3 separate regions of the Homo sapiens genome follow, and regions 2 and 3 are each linked to region 1. The links are contacts of gene promoters, found by promoter capture Hi-C in blood cells and fetal thymus (Javierre and others, 2016). All regions are on one chromosome and are shown on one strand. Each heading gives the region's core, a stretch centred on a gene start or on the middle of the fragment in contact. The rest is flanking DNA. Distances are from core to core; before and after follow the strand shown. Region 1 holds the start of PCDHB14 (protocadherin beta 14). Region 2 has its middle 6.8 kb from the start of TAF7. Region 3 overlaps PCDHGA1 (protocadherin gamma subfamily A, 1).

Evidence for each region. Contacts are between HindIII fragments. The CHiCAGO score rates a contact against its expected background, and 5 or more counts as called.
Region 2: a fragment that was not itself captured here is called in contact with the fragment with the promoter of PCDHB14 in region 1 in 1 of 17 cell types (M1 macrophages); the score reaches 5.8 in M1 macrophages.
Region 3: a contact is called between a fragment that was not itself captured here and the fragment with the promoter of PCDHB14 in region 1, in 2 of 17 cell types (M1 macrophages and monocytes). The highest score is 6.2, in M1 macrophages.

The regions. Positions count from the first base shown.
Region 1 is chr5:141,221,853-141,224,694 of GRCh38, reverse strand. PCDHB14 (protocadherin beta 14) reads right to left here and starts at 1,352. Exons shown (of 1, transcript NM_018934.4): 1 at 1-1,352. The coding sequence starts at 1,189. It also overlaps PCDHB@. The HindIII fragment of the contact is 16,360 bases long and covers 1-2,162 here.
Region 2 is chr5:141,312,577-141,315,330 of GRCh38, reverse strand. No RefSeq gene overlaps it. Among named protein-coding and RNA genes, the nearest start is that of TAF7, 6.8 kb to the left of the region's middle. The HindIII fragment of the contact is 1,485 bases long and covers 700-2,184 here.
Region 3 is chr5:141,335,958-141,338,734 of GRCh38, reverse strand. The region is part of intron 1 of PCDHGA1 (protocadherin gamma subfamily A, 1); the gene reads right to left. It also overlaps PCDHG@. Among named protein-coding and RNA genes, the nearest start is that of PCDHGA2, 1.4 kb to the left of the region's middle. The HindIII fragment of the contact is 3,193 bases long and covers 1-2,777 here.

The sequences.
Region 1 (2,842 bases), core at 103-2,602:
AGGTCGGTTTCAGGAAAAAAGGGAGGTTATCTTGAATAGAGCAAATCATCCTCCCATTGTCTCCAGAGTCTTGGTCTAGGATACTAAAAAGAGCTACTAGGGTCTCTGAGGCATTCTCTGGAATTCTCTTTGTAATCGACGATATGGTCACTTCTGGTGGGTTGTCGTTTATATCCATAACTTTAACTAGAAGGGTGCATTTTCCTGAAAGACCCCCACCATCTGTTGCCTGAATATTTATAGTGTAGGACTGTATTACTTCAAAATCCAGGGGTGATCTCAAATTAACTTCCCCAGATATTGGATTAATTTCAAATGTTTTACGAATATCTTCTGATGCATGGAAAAATGTGTAAGATATTTTTCCATAGTTTCCTGCATCCAGATCCTTAGCTGAGATGGTGGCAATCCAGGAGCCAAGGGGTCTGTCCTCGGGGACTTGCACCTCATAGAGACTCTGAGGAAACTCAGGGGCATTATCATTGATGTCCAACACCTTGATGAGAACCAAAGTTGTCCCAGACTTGGGCGGGGATCCACCATCCACTGCTGTGAGTGTTAATCTGAGTTCAGCTTCCTGTTCATAATCTAAAGCTCTATCTAGGACCAGCTCTGGGTATATCTTTCTGTCACTACTGTCGGGAATTTTAATGTAGAAGTGAGAATTGGGGCTAATTGTGTAGTTTTGGAGACTGTTGCTTCCGACATCCAAATCTTGAGCACTCTCCATTAGAAAGGTAGCTCCAACAGTGGTACCTTCTGATATTTTAATAAGTATTTCCTTGTCTAGAAATGTAGGGGAGTGATCATTTATGTCTTTGACACACAGCTCAAACCGAAAAAACTGTAAAGGGTTTTCCAAAACCACCTGAAAATGCAGCACACAGGGCTCGGTGGAGCCACACAGCTCGTCTCGGTCTAGTTTCTCATTTAGGAGCAAATTCCCAGTCAGCAAATCAAGGTGCAAATACTTTTTATTATCATCAGACACTACCCGGGCTTCACGTGAAGACAGCTCCTCCACCCCCAGCCCTAGGTCCCTCGCTAGATTAGCCACAAAAGAGCCAATTTCTGTTTCCTCTGCCACAGAATAGTGTGCAGATTCAGTACCTGCCCGAGACAATCCCAGCAAAACAAGGAATATTAGAACTTGCCTTTTTCGCAGATCGAGTGCCCCTCTGATCTCCATGGTTCCTTTAGGCAATCTCTTGTGGAAAAACTGAAGCTCAGCCGTAATTTTGGAAGCTGAAGCTCTGGTTTTTAACAGGAACCCCCTGGAGAGTGTATCCTCCAGCAGCTCTGTAGGCGAAGCTCCTTTAATGCCTGTCTTTTCAGTGGGTTGGATGCTTTCTGTTCTCCTGAATAGCGAAGCTCACCGTGCCAGCCTATGTACTGTTTTCGTCTTATCCTGTAGCGCCACCATGTGTCTCCATGTTTTTTTTTTCATTAAAAAAGTTTTCCTCTTTGAAAAAGTAATTCATAAATACATCCGGAACATTCGAAACAAATCCCAGACATCATTTTTTTTCCTTTAAATACTTCACTAAGTATTTTTAATAGGTAAGGCCTTCTAAAAGATAATTGTAATAAAACGTTCACAATCAACAACTTGAGCAATAATTCCTTGGTGTAATTTATACTGCATTTGGTTTTCCCCAGTTCTCTCCAAAATGTCCTTTGCTGTTGGTTTGTTTGAATTTGAATCCAGAAAAGTCCATACACTGCATTATCACTGTTTTGAATGCTCGGCACTAAAGGATCTGTTAAAATATTCTGAACTGAAGAAATAATTTTTTATTTAAGTCATTTCTCGAGTAATTACAAATATATTATCTCCTTCACTCTTGTAAATACTTGTTGTCAGCTATAGTTGGTAATATCATTACTTTTTTCACTTTTATATTTTAAAAATATAAAGAAGGACATGGCACAAATAAGTTAGAGATAATTCTTGCTCTTACAGAGCTCACAAGCTAGAAAAATTGGCAGACAAGTAAACGAAGTATGTCATAATGTATGCATTTATAAAAAGTAATATAGAAATACCTAGAAAAGACTTCTTGTACCTAGGAGGCTGCATACCTTAGTGCTTGGGAATATGGGATCTGGAACCAAATTATCAATATTAGAATCCTGGTTATGTGACTTACTATCTATAAGCTTGGGCAAGTTATAGATACCTTTGTTTCCTCACCTGTAAAATGGGGTAATAATATTTGTCTCCTATGATTATTATCGTAGGCATCTAATGAATTAATATTTACAAAGTGGTTTGTAAGTGCTGGTTAAGTGTCTGTCAAAAATAAAATAATTAAGATCAAAGTCGGACTTGGGACATCAGTGAAAGCTTTCCTGAGGTAATGAAAAATACATTGTGATCTGAAGGAACTAGCCAGGAGAAGGAGGAATATTTCAGATGGGCATTTTGAGGAACACAGAGAAATGAAGTATGCCTTGGACTTTAAAAACTATGGAAGGGGAGGGTCTAACAATGAAATTAGGGTTAAAAGCATGGTGAGAACATGAATCATTATACAGGTCATATCATGCATTCTTGAATTTATCCTAAAGGTAATTCAAGTACAAAGATGGGTTTTAAATATCTGATTAACATGATTACATCTGCATTTTAAAAAATCAGTTTGGCTGCAGTATGGAGAATTAATTTCAGGGGGAGTGACTGGAGAATCAAGGAGATCAGATAAGAGATGATGATCTGGATGAGGATAATGCCAGTGTGGATGGAGAGAAGAGGGATGAATAGAAAGGTATGAGGAGATGAAATGTTTTCAACTGTTGGTTGATAGGTTGCATGGGGAGAAAAATGGGAAAGACTCAGAGA
Region 2 (2,754 bases), core at 193-2,692, 91 kb before region 1:
TTTTGTGTGTGTGTGTGCCAAACTACAAGGGGTGTGTGTGTGTGTGTGTGTGTGTGTGCGCGCGCACCAAACTACAAGCTACTGGATATGCAGTGATGAACAAAGCATTTAGTGTCTATAAACTCATGCACTGCACGGTCTACTGGGATGAGTATCTGTTATAACTAAAGTGTAAATTACCTTTGTTCGTATCTCCTGCTTGGCTTTAAATTTACTGAGATATTTTGCTACATTAGTGACTGTAAACTTACTGAAGAATAGTAGAAAGATCAAAATCTTAACATCAAGACATGTCATGCATGGTTCGTATCCTAGCTCAGTTACCTATTAGTTGTGTGACCTTGCACAGGTAGCAATCTGTTTACCTCAATTTTCTCATCTCCAAAGTGGAGGCAATAATACTACCTACCTCATAGGGTTATTGGGCTGTTGGCTGCTGGCTGCTGAATCATATAAATGACTTATTTAGAACAATGCCTGGAACATAGTAAGTAAACAACAGAAGTAAATTTACCACTATTACAACCCATTAAGGTATGGACCATAACAGATACTAAATAATTAAAGAGTGACTGAAATGTTAGAAAAAGTGTTTATAGGGAAACAACTATTCTAAATGTAATTGTTTTCAAATTTAAGAAATTTTAGAGATCAGTTTCAACCAAATTCAGATGGGAAAAAAAATTCTAAATGAAAGCTTATAAATTAGGTTACAGCAGAAACGGTTTGCTTCAAATTTATCTGCAGCATAAACAAATTTACTCAGCTCTTTCCTCCTACAGTTTAGCACTTACAGTTCTCTTTTCTTGGAATAGTCACCAGATATTCTCATGGATAGCTTTTTGTCACTGAAGGCCCAACTCAACCCTTATTTTCTCTGGTAACCCTATCTGGCCATTCAATCTAATTCTTAAGAAGCATGTGATTTAGATGTTTCATCATGTCAGGTGCTATGTCAAGTGCAGTGGTCTTCATTAAAAAGTTGGAAGGTTCTTTGCTACTATTTTCTAATATATGTGTTCTGGAGGATATGTGCTTAAAAACAGAAGCAGCATCATTCTGGTTAGTTGGAATCAGGGAAATGGTTTTAATTGCTTAAGATTGCCTATTATCTTGGGCAATGTTACTGTATATGCTTGGCTCTGTTTTCTCCAAGTCCAACTGTATGGTCAAATGTATTTCATAGAATTTGACCTCAGGGAATCTGCCTCTGTTACTTGTGTTATTATGCCTGACAATTCATTGAAGGTATTAATGTTCTTGTACTGATCCCTGGCCTTGGTGTTATGGAGTATGGTTTCCAATGTGATATTTTCCTCCAAATAACTTTGTTTAATGGAACTGGGGCATACTGGGACACTGTCATTTACATTTATCTTTAGTTATGGGTATGTGAGTTCCTCTCACTGTTTCACCTCTGGTGGTCATAATGAGATGATGAAAGACTTCCTCTTTCTTTTCTAAATCATTCTGTAAGATCAGCTACATGGTGGTGTCTTTTTTTGTTCTAATTTTAATATCTAGGGAAAAATAAGCATTGCTTTTCAAATTCTAGTTTGCAGACAACATATTCTCATGTTGAAGTTTCAGGTACCCCTTAACTGGAAACTCATGTCAGGCAATAGTCTTACACTAATTTTAATAGATGTCTTTCTACTTGTAAAAGAACACCCGGCTGGGCATGGTGGCTTACGCCTGTAATCCCAGCAATTTGGGAGGCCAAGACAGATGGATCGCCTGAGGTCAGGAGTTCAAGACCAGCCTGACCAACAAGGTGAAACCCCATCTCTACTAAAAATACAAAAATTAGCCGGCTGTGATGGCAAGCACCTGTAGTCTCAGCTACTTAGGAGGCTGAGACAGGAGAATTGCTTGAACCTGGGAGGTGGATATTGCAGTGAGCCGAGATTGTGCCACCACGCTCCAGCCTGGGTGACGGAGCGAGACTCCATCTCAATAAAAAACAACAACAAGAACAAAAAAATCAAAAAACAAAAGAATACCCATGAATTGTCACTCATAACTAGAATTTCACTATCTGGTTTTTCAACATCTGCAGGTATTTTCAATATCAGCATGGGTTTTGTACAGTTTTTCAAAATGTATAAGGCCTTGGCTTTTCTCATCATGTATCTCTTCCTAATTACTGTTGCTATTGAAACATATGACCCCATTCTGTAAGCTTCACATGAATTGTGTTCTACCTTAAGAGACAATGTCCTGAGAGAGCACTATTCTGAAGTCCTTGGTTGTTACTCATGAGAAAGACTTGTCTCATTTCAGGTACATTTTATGAAGAATGCTCAGCAGGGCTGGGCGCAGTGGCTCACTCCTGTAATCCCAGCACTTTGGGAGGTCGAGGCAGGCAGATCACTTGAGGCCAGGAGTTTAAGACCAGCCTGGCCAACATGGTGAAACCCTGTCTCTACTAAAAATACAAAAAATTAGCTGGGCATTGTGGTGGGTGCCTGTAATCTCAGCTACTCAGGAGGCTGAGGCGGAAGAATAGCTTAAACCTGGGAGGCAGAGGTTGCAATGAGCCAAGATCTGGCCATTGCACTCCAGCCTGGGCAACAGAGCGAGACCCTGTCTCGGGAAAAAAAAAAAATGCTCACCAGAATAAGCCCACTGCAGGGGCAGTGTCGCAGTTCAGCCATTTTCTAGTACTTCTAATTCCTCAAATTTCTCTAACATCTGTGCTTCAGTTTCTTTTTCTTATAGTAGCTAGTACATTGACTCCCATTAATAGCAGGC
Region 3 (2,777 bases), core at 272-2,771, 110 kb before region 1:
TAGGTGGTCAACAGCGACGCTCAGAGGCCTAAATAATTTCTGCACCTGCTCAGGAAAACCTAAGTTACTTCTTGTTTGTTTGCCTTTGTTGACTTTCAAGGCGCTTTAAAGAATCTTACAGCTCTAAGATACCCTAGAATTAGATCTTTCAAAACAGGAATCTTTTTATCAGGATTAATAAGAATGGTATAAATGAACATGATCTTGATAATAGTTGCTAGGAAAGTATTATTGACTGCTCAAGGCATTAATCAATGCCACCACTGCCCTTGCTCCAAACATCTTCCATCTCTTATTGTATAATCAGAAGCAGTAAGATCAATTAAGAAACGTTAGCTACGTTTTCTTCTAAGGTTATATATTTTGAACGTTTATGGTTGATGGCTTTGCATTTACCTTCAAAATCTGCCTTTAAATTATTGAATCATCAGACACTTAATTGGGTACATGTGCCTCCCACTTTGCATGATTGCAGCTGGAGCTAGAAATGGTGAACATGATAAACACAGGCCCTGGTCTCAAGCGTGAAGGTTGGAGGAGGACATAAGAAAGTAAAGAGAGTATAATAGAGTATGGTAACTGCTGTGATATGAGGTAGGAAACACTGGGTGATGGAGGAATACCTAGGAGGGGTATCCAGTCTAGATTTGGGGTCAGAAAAGTCTTTTTGAGGGCATGATTGAAGCTGAATCATAAAAAGTAGGATTGAATCAAGAAAAAGGCTGAAGAAGTGTTCTAGAACCTCTGAACAAATGCTTGAAGGTAAGAGACAGCATGGAACATTACAGAAACAGAAAGCAGGTCTATTTGATAAAGCTAGAGCCGGAAGGGGTTTTTCACCACACTAGGAATCAGTCACTCAAAATTGTTTGAGGTTGTCAAGTTCTTTTTCTGATATTCATTTTCCAAGGGTGTAAAATACAATGCAGTGGATGTCTTCTTACTCTTGTTTCATCTTTACCATTTTGACCATAGTCAAGCATACAATTCTGTGACATTAAGTACATTCAAATTACATTCTGGTGTGACCATTACCACCATCCACTTCCAGAACTTTTTCATCCTCCCCAACTGAAACTCTGTACTTATTAAATAGCAACTCCCCATTGCCTTTCACCCAGTCCCTGGCAACTACCATTCTACCTTTTTTCTCTATGAATTTGACTAATCTAGGAACTTCATATATGAGGAATCATACAGTATTTGTCATTTTATAACAGGTTTATTTCACTTGATATCATGTCTTTGAAGTTCGTCCATATTGTAGCATGTAACAGAATTCCCTTCCTTTTTAAGGCTAAATAACAGCCCATTGTATGTGTGAACCACTTTTTATTTACCCATTCATCTGTCAATGGACACTTGGGTTACTTCCACTTTTCAACTATTGTGACTAATGATGCCATAAACATAGGTGTACAAATATCTGTTGAAGTCCCTATTTTCACTTCTTTTGGGTAATAACCAGAGTGGAATTGCTGGATTATATGGTAATTCTATGTTTAAATTTTTGAGGAGTCACCATACCATTTTCCACAGCAGTTGTGTCATTTTATATTCACCAGCAATGCACAAGAATTCCAATTTCTCCATATTCTTGTTAACATTTCTTTTCTTTTCTTTTATGACAGCAATTCTAATGAATGTGGAGTAGTATCTCATTATGGTTTTGATTTGCATTTCCCTAATGACTAGTGATGTTGAACATTGTTTCATATGGTTTTGGCCATTTGTATATCATCTTTGGAGAAATGTCTATTCAAGTCCTTTGCTCATTTTAACATCCAATTGTTTGGGATTCTTTGTTGTTGAGTTCGAGTTCTTTATTCTGGATATCCATTCTCAGATACATGATTTGGAAACATTTTCTCTCTTTCTGTGGGCTGCCTTTTCACTCTATTGATATTGTTCTTTGCTGCATATAGTTTTTAACTGTGATAAAGTCCAGTATACAATTTTTTTCTTTTGTTGCTTGTGCTTTTGGTGTCATATCCAAGAAATCATTGCCAAAAATCAATGTTATGAAGGTTTCCTCCTGTTTTCTTCTAAGAGTTGTATAGTTTTAGTTCTTAAACATAATAACTAAAAGGGTTTTATTGCTTCTGAATATTGCTTCTTTGATCCATTTTGAATTAATTTTTGTATGTGGCATAAGTGGAATTGCCCATTTCTGGTGACACTTTAATCTGTTTGCCTTTTGGCTCCTTCCTTATTGAAATTTTCTCATTTTTACTTTCATCCATTCCTCTTACAAGACTGAAGAAAAATATATTGGAAATAATTGATACCAACTCACCATGTTTTCTTGTAGAGCTACTATGGTATATTTTGCTTTTGTTTTTTATTTTTATTTTTGTGTTTGTGTTTGTGTTTTTTTGTTTTATAGAGATTGGGTCTTGTTATACTGCCCCGGCTGGATTCAAACTCCTGGGCTCAAGCAATCCTACTGCCTCAGCCTACTCAGTACCTGGGATTATAGGTGTGCCATTGTGCCTGGCTCTCTTACATGAGTCCTAACGTTAGACTTGACAGAATTTTCATTTTCTCCCCACTGGTTTTATTACATTTATTGTCTGCTTCCATTATTTCATCCTCAGAACTCTTCCATGGTTGCATTTCAAAAATGTAACTCTTTGTTATTTTTTCCATCATTTTATTTTAGTATATACTCATTGTATGTTTTTTATCTTACTTCTTGAATGGCAAGCTAAATTCATGTATTTTAAATAATTTTGTTTGCTTTTAAAAAAATTATTGCATTTGTCTATAAACTTACT